Regions from separate parts of the Homo sapiens genome. Here all the other regions are linked to region 3. The links are contacts of gene promoters, found by promoter capture Hi-C in human tissues and cell types (Jung and others, 2019). All regions are on one chromosome and are shown on one strand. The core of a region is centred on a gene start or on the middle of the fragment in contact, and the rest is flanking DNA. Distances in the headings are between cores, read along the strand shown. Region 1 overlaps CDH1 (cadherin 1). Region 2 overlaps PRMT7 (protein arginine methyltransferase 7). Region 3 holds the start of ZFP90 (ZFP90 zinc finger protein).

Evidence for each region. Contacts are between HindIII fragments. The study calls those that stand out against the background at their distance.
Region 1: a contact is called between a fragment that was not itself captured here and the fragment with the promoter of ZFP90 in region 3, in 2 of the 25 tissues and cell types used here (hippocampus and mesendoderm cells).
Region 2: a contact is called between a fragment that was not itself captured here and the fragment with the promoter of ZFP90 in region 3, in 4 of the 25 tissues and cell types used here (dorsolateral prefrontal cortex, lymphoblastoid cells, pancreas and 1 more).

What each region holds. Positions count from the first base shown.
Region 1 is chr16:68,768,963-68,773,787 of GRCh38, reverse strand. The region is part of intron 2 of CDH1 (cadherin 1); the gene reads right to left. Among named protein-coding and RNA genes, the nearest start is that of CDH1, 34 kb to the right of the region's middle. RefSeq lists enhancers at 1,388-1,682, 3,893-4,037 and a cis regulatory region at 3,965. The HindIII fragment of the contact is 7,823 bases long and covers 1-4,825 here.
Region 2 is chr16:68,329,168-68,333,698 of GRCh38, reverse strand. PRMT7 (protein arginine methyltransferase 7) reads right to left here. Exons shown (of 19, transcript NM_019023.5): 6 at 4,525-4,531. It also overlaps the pseudogene RNU4-30P. Among named protein-coding and RNA genes, the nearest start is that of PRMT7, 20 kb to the right of the region's middle. The HindIII fragment of the contact is 4,800 bases long and covers 244-4,531 here.
Region 3 is chr16:68,537,684-68,542,139 of GRCh38, reverse strand. ZFP90 (ZFP90 zinc finger protein) reads right to left here and starts at 2,849. Exons shown (of 5, transcript NM_001305203.2): 1 at 2,661-2,849; 2 at 2,315-2,382. The coding sequence starts at 2,347. The HindIII fragment of the contact is 20,432 bases long and covers 1-4,456 here.

The sequences.
Region 1 (4,825 bases), core at 1,778-4,277, 230 kb before region 3:
CAAGCTGAGTTTAAATCTTGGCTGTGCCACCTCCCATCTGTGGGACCCTGGACTAGTCACTTTACCTCTCAGAGCCTCAGTTTACTTTACTGCAAATTGGAGATAATACAGTCAGTTCTTCAATAATCCTTGTTTTGAAAATGCAAATGTGTTTCAATGTGAATGATGTATTAGGAAATAACTTGAGCAGGCTGGGTGCACTGGCTCACGCCTGTAATCCCAGCACTTTGGGAGGCCAGGGCGGGCAGATCACCTGAGGTCAGGAGTTCGAGACCAGCCTGGCCAACATGGCGAAACCCCGTCTGTACTAAAAATACAAAAAAATTAGCTGGGAGTGGTGGTGCACACCTGTAATCCCAGCTACTGGGGAGGCTGAGGCAGGAGAATCACTTGAACCTGGGAGGCAGAAGTTGCAGTGAGCCAAGATTGTGCCACTGCATTCCAGCCTGGGTGACAGAGCAAGACTCCATCTCAACAAAAAAAAAAAAAAAAAGGAAAATAACTTGAGTATAACTCAATGTCAAGGTTGCTCACATGTGCAATTTTGTCTCCAACCAACACTAGGTGAATGCAGAAGACTCTATCTAGCTGAAGCACGGGAACACACAAAACACCCACCTTCTCCAGCTGCCTCAGTTCACATGTTACAAACCTCACCCATCCACACCTGGTGTTACAACTTCCATCTCATTTCAGACAATTCTCCTTCCACCACTTATAACAAGCCACAACCCTTTAGAGACCCATTTCCACAAGCAAAATTCTTTTTGTCTAATGTATTACGATGAAGTTCTTGAGTGCTGAGCTCCTAAACCCACTTTCCCATAAGCCTGGTGGTTTTGGTTTTTGTTTTTGTTTTTTGAGACTGGGTGTCACTCTGTTGCCCAGGCTGGAATCCAGTGACACAATCATGGCTCACTGCAGCATTGACCTCCCAGGCTCAAGCGATCCTCCCACCTCAGCCTTCTGGGTAGCTGGGACCCCCAGGTAATTTTTTTGTACTTTTTGTATTTTTTGTTAGGATGGGGTCTCACTCTGTTGCCCAGGCTGGTCCTGAACTCCTGGGCACAAGCGATCCACCTGCCTCGGCCTCCCAAAGTACTGGGATTACAGGCTTGAGCCACCGTGCCCAGCCTAAGTCTGGTGTTTTTCATGGGCAATTTGACATAGTGTGGTGATTTTGAGGAAGACCTACATCACAGGGTATGGAGTGAAGTATATATAAGATCTGTATACGGTGCGGGTTAGCCCAGAGCCAGGCCAGTTGTAAGTGGTCCATAGATGTCAGCTGTGACTGTTCTCTCGCTCTGAATGTAGACAGAGCCTGGTGCATAAAAGATGCCCAGTGAACATTTATTGAATTTTCCTTGATGGGTCTATGGCTTATTAATCTTAGTGAACTAATTAAAGAGACTTATCTATCTCTCCCATATGTTGGAGAGGGACAAACCATAAATTAGAGAGGAAGCTTCCAAGTTCTAATGGAGCCCCGCCCTTCCATGCATGGCACGAAGAGGATAAGAAAGGCAGTGTCCCTGTCTGCTAGGCCTGCCCGATTAGGTGGTAAGCAAGGCAAGGACATATGCGATTGGCCGTTGTGTGGCAACACGGGGCCAATTTTGAGATAAGGAGCCTAGACCCTGAGTCCTTAAGTCAGGGTCCCAGTGTAGCATTAAGTGGTTGAGAGCCCCAGGTCAGAGGTCAGACGACCCAAGTTCAAGCCCCAGATCCACTTATCAACTATGCCACCTTGGGCATGTGATTTCACCTCTCCTGCCTGCCTCGATTTCCTCATATGCAAAACAGAAATAGTGATGGTCTCTATTTCCTAAGGGGATGGGATGATTCAACAAGTTAATCCACGTAAAGCCCTTTAGCACTGTCAGACACAGAATAAAAGCTCAATGGGCTAGGCACGGTGGCTCGCGCCTGTAATCCCAGCACTTTAGGAGGCAGAGGCAAGAGGCCAGGTATTTGAGACCAGCCTGGGCAACATAGTGAGATCTCTTTACAAAAAAAAAATTTTTTTTTTTTTTTGAGAGGGAGTCTTGCTCTGTCGCCAGGCTGGAGTGTAGTGGTGCGATCTCGGCTCACTGCAACCTCCACCTCCTGGGTTCAAGCGATTCTCCTGTCTCAGCCTCCCTAGTAGCTGGGACTACAGGCATGCGCCACCACGCCCAGCTAATTTTTGTATTTTTAATAGAGACGGGGTTTCACCATGTTGGCCAGGATGGTCTCGATCTCTTGACCTTGTGATCCACCCGCCTCCACCTCCCAAAGTGCTGGGATTACAGGCGTGAGCCACCGCGCCCGGCTACAAAAAATTTTTTTAAATTAGCCAGGTATGGTGGCACGTGCCTATGGTCCCAGCTACTCGGGAGGCTCAGATGGGAGGATTGCTTGAGACTAGGAGTTCGAGACTACAGCGAGCTGTGATCTGCACTGCACTCCAGCTTGGGTGACAAAGTGAGACCCTGTCTTAAAAAGAAAAAGAAAAAAGGGCTCAATACACATTAGCTGCTATTCTGGGATTCTAGGGCTGAAAAAGAAGATCAGAGCCTGCGTAGGAAAGCGTAGGTGTGAGTAGCAGCCAGGGAAGGTCTGAGTTGCCTGGGACTGCAAGGCAGAACAGCCAGGAGCTAACTTCCACCAACCACGCGCCCCGAACCCTTTCTCACACACCAGCCCGCACTTAGCCGTGTCCATGGAAGAAATGAGAATCAGCTCTGTCTCCTGCACATCATTTCCAAAAGACGGGAGAGCCTCCTCCACTGGCGGGGAAAGGATTCCTATGGAACCTGACGCAGGAGTTGGCTGCACGGTCTGGTTTGCATCACTTCGTCTCGGTGGAAGCTGATGGAGGCAGAGGCACTTATCTGTCCTTCAGAAGATAAGGTCTAAAAAACTAGAGACCAGCTCTAGCCTCTGCCTTCCCCTCCCAGCTTATCTCCCGCCTGTGAGCCCATCTACCCACCAGGCCCTGCCACACTGGGCCTCTTGCCCACTCCACACACTGCGCTCCTTCCTGTCTCAGGCTCTCAGCCCTTGCTGTTCCTCTGCTTGGAATTCTCTTCCTACTGCTCTCTTCATGGTGTCCTCCTTTCTACCACTAGGTACCACACAAACATCCTCCTGCCTGATCCACTCCTCAGCTAAAGGGGCCCTGCACCACTACCCCAGGCACTCCCTACCCCGTTTCACTGCTTTACATCCTTCTAGAATGTGCTGCCCTCTGAAATCCTTATTTATTGCCACGTTCCCTGAAGGTGCGAGGCTGGTGCCTGGCCCACAGCAGGCTCTGAATGAATCTGGATGTCAACTGGCTGGTACCCACCTGAAGGCAGAGGCAGAGTCATTCAGCTGTCCATGAACATCCCCTAAGGGCCCTCTATGTGCTGCGGACTGAGCTTTGGGCTCCGGGAGTGGGGATGGGACACAAGAGACCCAAATACTTACCTCTGAGGTCCTTCCAGGCACAGGAAAAGATGTAGTCAGAGGGGGTCTAGCCAGGCGATGTCTTGTGGAAGACAGGCCCAGTCAGGAAGGTGACAGTTTTAGGACAGGAGGCAGAGCTCCCCAGAGCACACACCTGGTGGTGGCAGAGAGGGCTAGGCCAGGTGGCCCCAAAAGCCCTTCCAACTTTATGATTCTGAGGCAAAGATGAAGAAAGCAACATAATAGTAGCCAAGAAAGGACCCCTAATTGACAGGGAGGAAAGGTCTCCAGATAGACTTGGACCTGAAAACAACCGGGGGCATGACAGCAGCCATCAGAGGCTACCATTTTCTTTAAAAAAAAAAAAAAAAAAGCCAGCTGCGGTGGCTCACACCTGTAATCCCAGCACTTTGGGAGGCCGAGGTGGGCAGATCATGACGAGCTCAGGAGATTGAGACCATCCTGGCTAACACGGTGAAACCCCGTCTCTACTAAGAATACAAAAAAATTAGCCAGGCGTGATGGCATAAACCTGTAGTCCCCAGCGTGAGCCACCGCGCCAGGCCCCAGCTAATGTTTTTATCTTTTGTAGAGATGGGGTCTCCCTATGTTGCCCGGGCTGGTCTTGAACTCCTGGACTCCGGCGATACTCCCACCTTGGCCTCCCAAAGTGCTGGGATTATAGGTGTGAACCACCACTCCCAGCCATGGATAAAATATTTTAATTATGAAATTACATGTGCAGGTTGGGCACAGTGGCTCATGCTTATAATCCCCACACTTTGGGAGACTGAAGCGGGAGGATCTCTTGATCCCAGGAGCTCAAGACCAGCCTGGGCAACATAGTGAGACCCTGTCTCAATTAAAAAGAGGAAAAAAAAAAAAAGAAATTCCATTTGCAGAGGGTTTTCTATGAACACCTGATAGGCCACGGTACAATTTAGAGGCATCTTACCATGTGCTGCCTCAAAGGAATCAGAAAGCAGCCAACAGACATTGAAGTAGGAAGAGCAAGAGCATGATTTTGAAAAAAAGTATACACATAAATCTAACTGTATGAAACATTTCTATAGGCATATTTCAGTAGTTATTGATATAGATGTATTTGTAATGAATACAGAAATAGCTGTGTGGAGTCATTCAAATATCTGAGGACCTCCTCTATGCTGGGCAGAATTCTGAGCCCAAGCCCTAGAAGTACAGCAATGAACAAAACAGACCCACCCTCAAGGAGCTCATATTCAAAGAGAGGGAGACAAGCAGATCATGAAATTGAATAGTAATCAGTGCCATGGAAAAAAGGCAGGGTAGGCGGTACAGTGACAAGGGTATAGATGTGAGCTATTATCCAAGACAGACTCTGCTGAGAACTGGGGCAGTTTGAGCAGAG
Region 2 (4,531 bases), core at 1,394-3,893, 210 kb after region 3:
ACTTCATGGCCAAGGCTGCCCTGCAGATCAGTCTCCCTGCCGTCAAAATGGATAAATTTTCAAGAATAAATGATCTCGCCAGGTACAGTGGCTCCCATCTGTGATCCCAGCACTTTGGGAGGCTGAGGCAGAAGGACTGTGTGAGGCCTGGCGTTCAAGACCAGCCTGTGAAACAAAGCGAGACCTAGTTTCTTTTCTTTTCTTTTTTTTTTTTTTTGAGCCAGAATTTTGCTCTTGTTGCCCAGGCTGAAGTGCAATAGCGCAATCTCGGCTCACCGCAACCTTTGCCTCCCAGGTTCAAGCAATTCTCCTGCCTCAATCTCCTCAGTAGCTGGGATTACAGGCATGCACCACCACACCTGACTAATTTTGTATTTTTAGTAGAGACAGGTTTCTCCAAGTTGGTCAGGCTGGTTGCTACTCCCAACCTCAGGTGATCCGCCAGCCTCGGCCTCCCAAAGTGCTAGGATTACAGGCATAAGCCACTGCACCCAGCCGCAAGACTTAGTTTCTAATAAAAATTTAAAAAAACAAAAAAATTAGTTGGGTATGGTGGCGCCTGCCTGTGGTCCCAGCTACTCAGGAGGCTGAGGCAGGAGGATCACTTGAGCCCAGAAGTCGAGGCTGCAGTGAGCTGTGTTCGCATCACTGTACTCCAGCCTAGGCAACAGAGTGAGACTGTCTCAAAAAAAAATAAATAAATGAATCAATCTCCACTCTGGCCATAGTGGAATAAGTGGGATCAGGCTTACCCTCCGGCTGTTATCAACTAGAAAACTGGGCAAAATATATGAAACAAGTGTTTTCAGATGTTGAGCAAGAGGCAACACAGTTTGCTCCCTAAGAAGGGAAACAAACCAAGTAACCCTTACCCTGCTCTGGCTATCAGCCAGGAGACCCTTTCCAGACCACAGTATAGGGTAAGAGGTGACACAGAGCACGGCAGTCTTGCTGAGTTAAACAGACAGGAAACGAGTTCAGGGAAGTGGAAGCAGCTGGAACTTGCCAGGCAGAGAATCAGAGAGGAAATTACACAGAAAAAAAGCCTTCAGAATGCTGCACAGGGTTCCTCTAGGGTCTGTGTTAATACATTCACACACACACAGGGTAATACTCTGTGAAGCCGAGCAAAGGTTGCATGAGTGATAACAATCTCCGGAGCTCTCAGAGGCCTGGGAAACATTCAAGTTCTGATCAGCCAGACAAGGGAAACCCTGCTGAGCACCTAGAGCTCTCAGCAGACACTCCAGAAAGGTTACAGTAACTGTCTGGCTAAACAGCCTTAGAGCAGTGGTTCTCAACAGGTGGCAATTTTACACACTCGAGACCAAGGAAGACGTGGCAGTCTGGAGACATTTTTAGTTGGCAAGAATGGTGGGAGGAGGGGAGTGCTACTGACATCCACTGGGAAGAGGCCAGGGACACTGCTAAACATCCTACAATGCAAAGGACAGGGTCCACAACAAAGAATTATCAAAATGTCACATAGTTGGAGAATGCCAAAACGTCACAGCACTACTGTTGAGAAGGCCTGACTTAAAGCTACTCTAACCCCACTCCAAAGAAAGCTTAAACAAGCCCTGAAAGGATCAATCTGAACTGCAAGTAACCCAACTGCATGCCAAAGTTTAAAAAGCAAAACCAACGAAGTCTAGCACTCAACAATGGGGAATTCCAAATAGCCACAGCATCCAAACAAAAATGGTTAGACATGTGAAGAAGGAAAATGTGACCCAGAATAAGGATAAAAATGAGTCAAGAGAACAAACCCAGAAAAAACAAAGATGGTGGGAACAGAAGATAAGGATGTTCAAAAAGCTAAAATAAATGTGCTTATAGAAAACTATGAACATGAGAAAAATGGAAGTTATGAAAAAGAATCAAGTGGAACTTTCAGAGATTAAAAAATACAATATCAAAAATGAGGCCAGGCACAGCGGCCCACGCCTGTAATCCTAGGACTTTGGGATGCTGAGGTGGGAGAATCGCTTGAGCCCAGGAGTTTGAGACCAGCCTAAGCAACAAACTGAGATCCCATCTCTACAAAAAAAAATTTTTTTTAAGTTAGCCAGGCATGGTGGCATGAGCCTGTGGTCCCAGCTACACAGGAGGCTGAAGCAGGAGGACTGCTTGAGCCCAGGAGGTCAAAGCTGCAATAAGCCATGCTCACACCCCTGCACTCCAGCCTGGGGGACAGGTCAAGATCCTGTCTCAAAAAAAAAAAAAAAAGAACAACAAAGAAAGAGAAATGAAAAGTTTACTAAATATACTTAACAGCATATTAGATGCTGCAAAAGAAAAGATCAGTGAATCTAAAGACCTATCCAAGAAATCCCTGTCCATCAACAGGTAGAGAGATAAACAAGTTATGGTACATCTATCTAATAGAGTGCTGCTCAGTAACACAAAAGAACGGACCCCCAAGACATGAACAGTGTGGAAGAATCTTACCAGCATCACGCTATAAAAAAGAGAGCACACACACAGAAGAGTCCACACTTCTTTGATTCCACTTCCTTGAAATCCTAGACAGGCAAATCTAATCTATAATGAAGTCTATGAGTGGGTGCCTAGGACCAGGATATGGGGGGACTGATAGAAAGGGTTATGAGGAATCTCTTTGGGCATGATGGAGATGTTCTATTATCTTCATTATGGTGATGGTGGTTACAAGTGTGTTTATATTTGTCAAATATCCATAATGAAAATGGATATTCATTTAATGTAAATCATACTTCAATAACGTTGATTGTAAATGGAATGATTTGAGCACTCTATTGTATATTTTAAAAATAAAAAAGATAGGCCGGGCGCGGTGGCTCACACCTGTAATCCCAGCACTTTCGGAGGCCGAGGCAGGCTGGTCACCTGAGGTCAGGAGTTCGGGACTAGCCTGGCCAACACGGTGAAACCCCGTCTCCACTAAAAATACAAAAATTAGCCAGGCATGGTGGTGCACGCCTGTAATCCCAGCTACTCATGAGGCTGAAGCAGGAGAATCGCTTGAACATGGGAGGCAGAGGTTGCAGTGAGCTGAGATCCTGCCATTGCACTCCAGCCTGGGCAACAGAGTGAGACTCTGTCTCAAATAAATAAATAAATAAGATAGTACCCACTTCTTTTGTACATGTTTCAGATTCTCCATTAAAAAAAAATTGTTAAATGGGAGAATAATGTTGACCTTAGGTAGAAGCTTCAATTCAGAATGATACTGCATTCTCCAAAACCGTGGTGAAAAAGCCAGGTGCAGTAGTGCACACCTGTAGTCCCAGGTACTTGGGTCGCTGAGATGGGAGGATCACTTTAGCATAAGAGTTTGAGTCCAGCCTGGGCAACATAGTAAGACCCTATCTCCACAAAAAATTAGAAAAAACCCATGGTGTTATCCATAACTTCACCACAGTTTTTCCTTTGCAAATCTTTCAACTATGTTCTCTAAGTGTCAGTGGCATGTGAAATTTTCAAAGACTGAAACAAAGTTCTAGACTATAAAAAATATTCTGGAGGCCAGGCATGGTGGCTCACGCTTATAATCCTAGCACTTTGGGAGGCTGAGGCAGGCGGATCACCTGAGGTCAGGGGTTCAAGACCAGCCTGGCCAACATGGTGAAACCCCGTCTCTGCTAAAAATACAAAAAGCAGCCAGGTGTGGTGGCAGGCACCTGTAATCACCGCTACTTGGGAGGCTGAGGCAGGAGAATCACTTGTACCCAGGAGGTGGAGGATGCAGTGAGCCAAGATTGCACCACTGCAATGCAGCCTGGGTGACACAGTGAGATTCCGTCTCAAAAAAAAAATATGTGTGTGTGTGTGTGTGTGTGTACATATACATATTCTGGAAACCTTAAGAGACAATGCTATACAGGAAAATTGTTCATGTTGTATGCAGAAGCAGAATGTCAGAACTACTCTCGCCATTCTCCTGCCTCAGCCTCTCCAGTAGCTGGGACTACAGGTGCCCACCACCATGCCTGGCTAATTTTTTGTATTTTTAGTAGAGATAGAGTTTCACCGTGTTAGCCAGGATGGGTGAACCCAGGAGGCAGAGCTTGCAGTGAGGCAAGATAGCGCCACTGCACTCCAGCCTGGGCGACAGAGTGAGACTCTCTCTCAAAAAAATAAATAAATAAAAGAACTAAGTACTTTCTGCCTGATGAAACTCAGAGTTGAGCTTTGAGCAGTGGCAGTATCGTAGCCAATGAGGTTTATCCAAGGCGTAATTATTGGTAGTTGAAACTCAAGAGTTGAGCCCCATAAGAATTCCAATTTGCTTAAAGCAAATGTAGGTTTTGTTTGCGTCTCCATTGCTGGACCTGACTAGCTCTAGTCTACTCCTTGTTGACTAGTTTTAACTAGCAGGAAAATAAACATCAAGAGAAACCAAGTCCTTACTGTCAGAGCTCCACACAGAGAGGTCCCACTTCTATGCTATGACCTGGATTTGTTCCAGGTAACTGGAATAACCCTTTTCCTCTCTCACACAAGAGCAAGCAAAGCTTTCAACACAGGGTGTGTAAATCTCACCTGGACC
Region 3 (4,456 bases), core at 1,600-4,099:
TTTACAGTTAAGCAGTCACAGGACTCATTACTAATCTTTGCATTCCCCTGAGGGTCATGCTCAGGGAACCACTGCTAAAGGGAAATTTCTGCCTGAAAAGCCCCGTTTAGGACCAGTGTTCTGTTCTGTCCTTCATCCCTGGTTATCTGCAGCCTGAGTTAGATAACCCACATGGACATCATCAGGCCATTCAATGAGAATGCAACTGAGCCAGGGCGTTCAGGGAACATAGCTTGAAAAGTCAAGTTTACAGTGGTCCTTAAAATTCACTGCTCAGAACATGAATCCACTTTCACCACTAAAAAGGTATCCTCCCACTATGGAAAAGACCAGAGTCCCTGATGAGGTGTTAAGTCATCTAATTCTCACAAGCCTATGGAGGATACTTTGCATGTAAAGGGGATAACGATCATGATGTGCTCTGGCTCTCCTCAAACCAAGTAACTGTCTTGTTTTAGTATTGGCAGGTGTCTTACTCCTTAAGGCTCATCCCTGTAAAAACAGAAACATATAATAAGAAGTATATATATATATAAAAACGCAGGCCGGGCCCGGTGGCTCACGCCTGTAATCCCAGAACTTTGGGAGGTCAGGAGATCGAGACCATCCTGGCCAACATGGTGAAACCCCATCTTTACTAAAAATACAAAAATTAGCTGGGCATGGTGGCACATGCCCAGCTGTGGTGGCTCACACCTGTAATCCCAACACTTTGGGAGGCTGAAGCGAGCACATCACTTGAGCTTAGGAATTCAAATCCAGCCTGGAGAAACCCCATCTTTACAAAAAAAAACAAAAATTAGGCCAGGCGTGGTGGCTCACATCTGTAATCCCAGCACCTTGGGAGGCCAACGTGGGCGGATCAATTGACGTCAGGAGTTCGAGACCAGACTGGCCAACATGGTAAAACCCTGACTCTACTAAAATACAAAAAAATTAGCCGGGTGTGGTGGTGTACACCTGTTAATCCCAGCTACTAGGGAGGTTGAGGCAGGAGAATCACTTGAACCCAGGAGGTGGAGGTTGCAGTGAGCCGAGATCATGCCACTACACTTCAGCCTGGGTGACAGAATGAGACTGTCTCAAAAAATAAAATAAACCAAAAAATACAAAAATTAGCCGGGCATGGTGGCGTGCACCATGGCAGAGGTTGCAGTGAGCCAAGATCATGTCACTGTACTCCAGACTGGGTGACAAGAGACCCTGTTTCAAAAAAAAAAAAAAAAAAGGCATGATGTATTGTATGCTTAATTCACTATAAACTGCTCTTTTAAAGGACATTACTAAGTTGGTGTTTTTATCTTTTAAATTTTTTTTTTTTTTTTTTTTTTGCAGAGACGGAGTCTCACTATGTTGCCCAGGCTGGTCTCAAATTCCTGGGCTTAAACGATCCTATTGCCTCAGCTTCCCAAAGTGCTGGACTTACAGGTGTGACCCACTGTACCTGGCAACTTGGTATTTTTATTTGAATTGATCTTGATGTCTCACACACCTAGCAACTACAATCTGTCATTTTCCCTTAATTCTAAAGAGAATGTAGATTCAAAGATACAGATACCATCTGGATCTTGATGTATTTTCACCAATATGTAAATCAATGGATAACCTTAGAGTTGTGACGCTTCTAGAAAATGCCCCCTCTGCCACAAGAATAAATGGGTTCACGAATCAGCCTCACATTAAGGTGAAGGCTGGACTTCTGGCGGTGGGGAGTGAGTTGCTCTATTACATTTTTGTTAAAGCAGAAAAGGACAGACACAAAAAGCTCTGGGAGAATCAGCCCTGGTTTTATTTTTGGTTGTTTTTTATTTTGTTTTGTTTTTGCCTCCTTGCCCAAGAAAGCCCATCTCCAGCCTCTTCCTAGACATGTTCTAACCAGGCTTCTACGGCCCCTTACGGACTCTCTATGGGCCCTGGGTCAGAAGCTGGGGCTCCTCTCTCCACACTTGCCGACAGTCACTTCCTCCTCTACAGTGTTCCATCCTGTGACCCCACTCTCTCCATTTCTTATTGACAAGAGTTCAAAAAACTGGCGTGGCATTCAGGACTCTCAAAACTGACACTTCCCAACGCATCCAATCTCAACTCCTCCCACAAGATCGCACCACACTGGCCCTCTCTACCCCACAGAGCAGCCTCCCCTTTGGGAATCCAGCTCCCCAAAGCCTGGGGTTTTCCATGGCCAGGAGGCTCCGATCGAGCCAAGCAAGTAAGGGAGTCGCCAGGCAGAGAACAATGACTGCTCCAAACACCCTTGGGAGATGGGATGGATAGATGGATGGGATGCCCAGGAGGTTAGGAACGCGTTGCTCACCTGGGGCGCGGCGGTCGGAGGCCTCGGGGCCATTCCTGCCTCGCCAGGGCCCGGCTCCGGGGCAGGAGCTGGGGAGAAAGGACAGGGCCCACTCACCCCGCTGCAACACCGACCCCACCCCGCCCCGCCCCGCCCCACCTCCGCCCCTAAACCACATCTCCAGGGGAGATGGTGGCGAGGACCGTGGAACCAGCCCGGGCCTGCCGCTCCCCATCCCCGAAATGAAAGGCTCAGCGGCCTCCCGGACACCCCCCTCCGGCCACGCCCAGTCCCCTTCGCAGGGTGGTGGGCGAGGCCCGGCTGACACCCGCCAAACCCAGGAGGGGTCCCGCCCAGACCCGCGCACTCAGAATCACCGCCTCTGGGGGGCTCCGGATTTCGCGACCTCCGGCCCACCCAGAGCCTCGGGCAGCTCCTCCCGCCCCCGCCGAAGCCTCGGTTATCTCCAATTCTGATCTGCGGAGGGGCTGCCCAAAGGGGCCTCAGCCGCACCGGGGTCGGACAATGGCCGCAGCGGTGGGGCAGAACTGGAAGTGCGCCTGCGCACTCGGAGCCTCGCTCCTGCAACCCCGGGTCCACGCCGGGCGCGCGAACTACACTTCCCAGAGGCCCGCGCGCGCAGGCCCCGCCTAGGCGGCTTCCGAAGGCGCGTTAGGGACCCTTGCGAGGGCCGAGGGAGGCGGCCAGTGTGGCTCGAGTGTGCGTGTCCCTGTATTCCAGTCACTGTCCGCCTCCTCTTTGCAAGGGGCTTGTTGCTAGCTGGGGAATCGGCCGGGAAAGACCCTGGTTTCGGGGAGCAATCGTACGCCCCTTTCGACGAGGCTGACGATAAAAACGCAAACATGTCAACAAGATAATGTCAGGTCCTGACTTCAGCGGTAAGAGTGACACAGGAAGGGAGTGAGACAGCGTCAGAGGGTGGGGCATTTACATCTTCTTCAAAAGGCAATTTTCCATTTCTCATTTTAGAGAAAAAAGAAACTTCGGACAAATCCGTGGCCTCCTGAGCAATGTGCAAAGGCAGATCTACTGCCGTGTTATTTCATTACTTCGTATCCCCTTACGCAGGATTTTGTTTGGGACAAGCAAACAATGATGGAAATTTTCTTTTTTTTTTTTGAGACACAGTTTCGCTCTTGTTGCCTAGGTTGGAGTGCAATGGCGCGATTTTGGCTCACCGCAGCCTCCGCCTCCTGGGTTCAAGCGATTCTCCCGCCTCAGCCTCCCGAGTAGCTGGGATTACAGGCATGCGATGCGTCACCAGGCCCGTCTAATTTTGTATATTTAGTAGAGACAGGTTTTCTCCATGTTGGTCATGCTGGTCTCGAACTCGCCTCGGCCTCCCAAAGTGCTGGGATTACAGGCATGGGCAACCGCGCCCGGCCCGATGGAAATTTTCAACACAAAGATAGGTCAACTTTTAGATACAGCTATTACGTTTATGTAATTATGTCTTATATATCACAGACATTCAGGCTACATTTCCTAGATTTCAGCTTGATTTCTTAACATTAGAGCATTGCATACCAACATGGTAGAAAATGACTGCAACGAAATGTTCCTGATGTCACACTGCTTTATCAAAAATATGAACATTCAAAAATAAATGCTTTATGCCGGGTGCGGTGGCTCAAGCCTGTGATCCCAGCACTTTGGGAGGCTGAGGCTGGCGGATCACCTGAGGTCAGGAGTTCGAGACCAGCCTGACCAACATGGAGATAGCTCGTCTCTACTAAAAATACAAAATTAGCCAGGCTTGGTGGCGCATGCCTGTAATCCCAGCTACTCAGAAAGCTGAGGCAGGAGAATCGCTTGAATCTGGGAGGCAGAGGTTGTGGTGAGCCGAGATTGCACCATTGCACTCCAACCTGGGCAACAACAGCAAAACTCCATCTCAAAAAAAACAAAACAAAAAAGGGAGAAAATTTCCATCACTGTTGGCTTGTCCCAAACACAAAATCCTGCGCAAGGGGCTAACAAGTAATGAAATAACACGTCAATAGCACAGGGAGGCTGAGGAGGGAGGAGCCCAGGAATTAAAAGACCAGCTTGGGCAACATGGCAAAACCCTGTCTCTACAAAAAATACAAACATTAACTGGTTGCAATAGTGTGCGCCTGTGGTCCCAGCTACTTGGGAGGC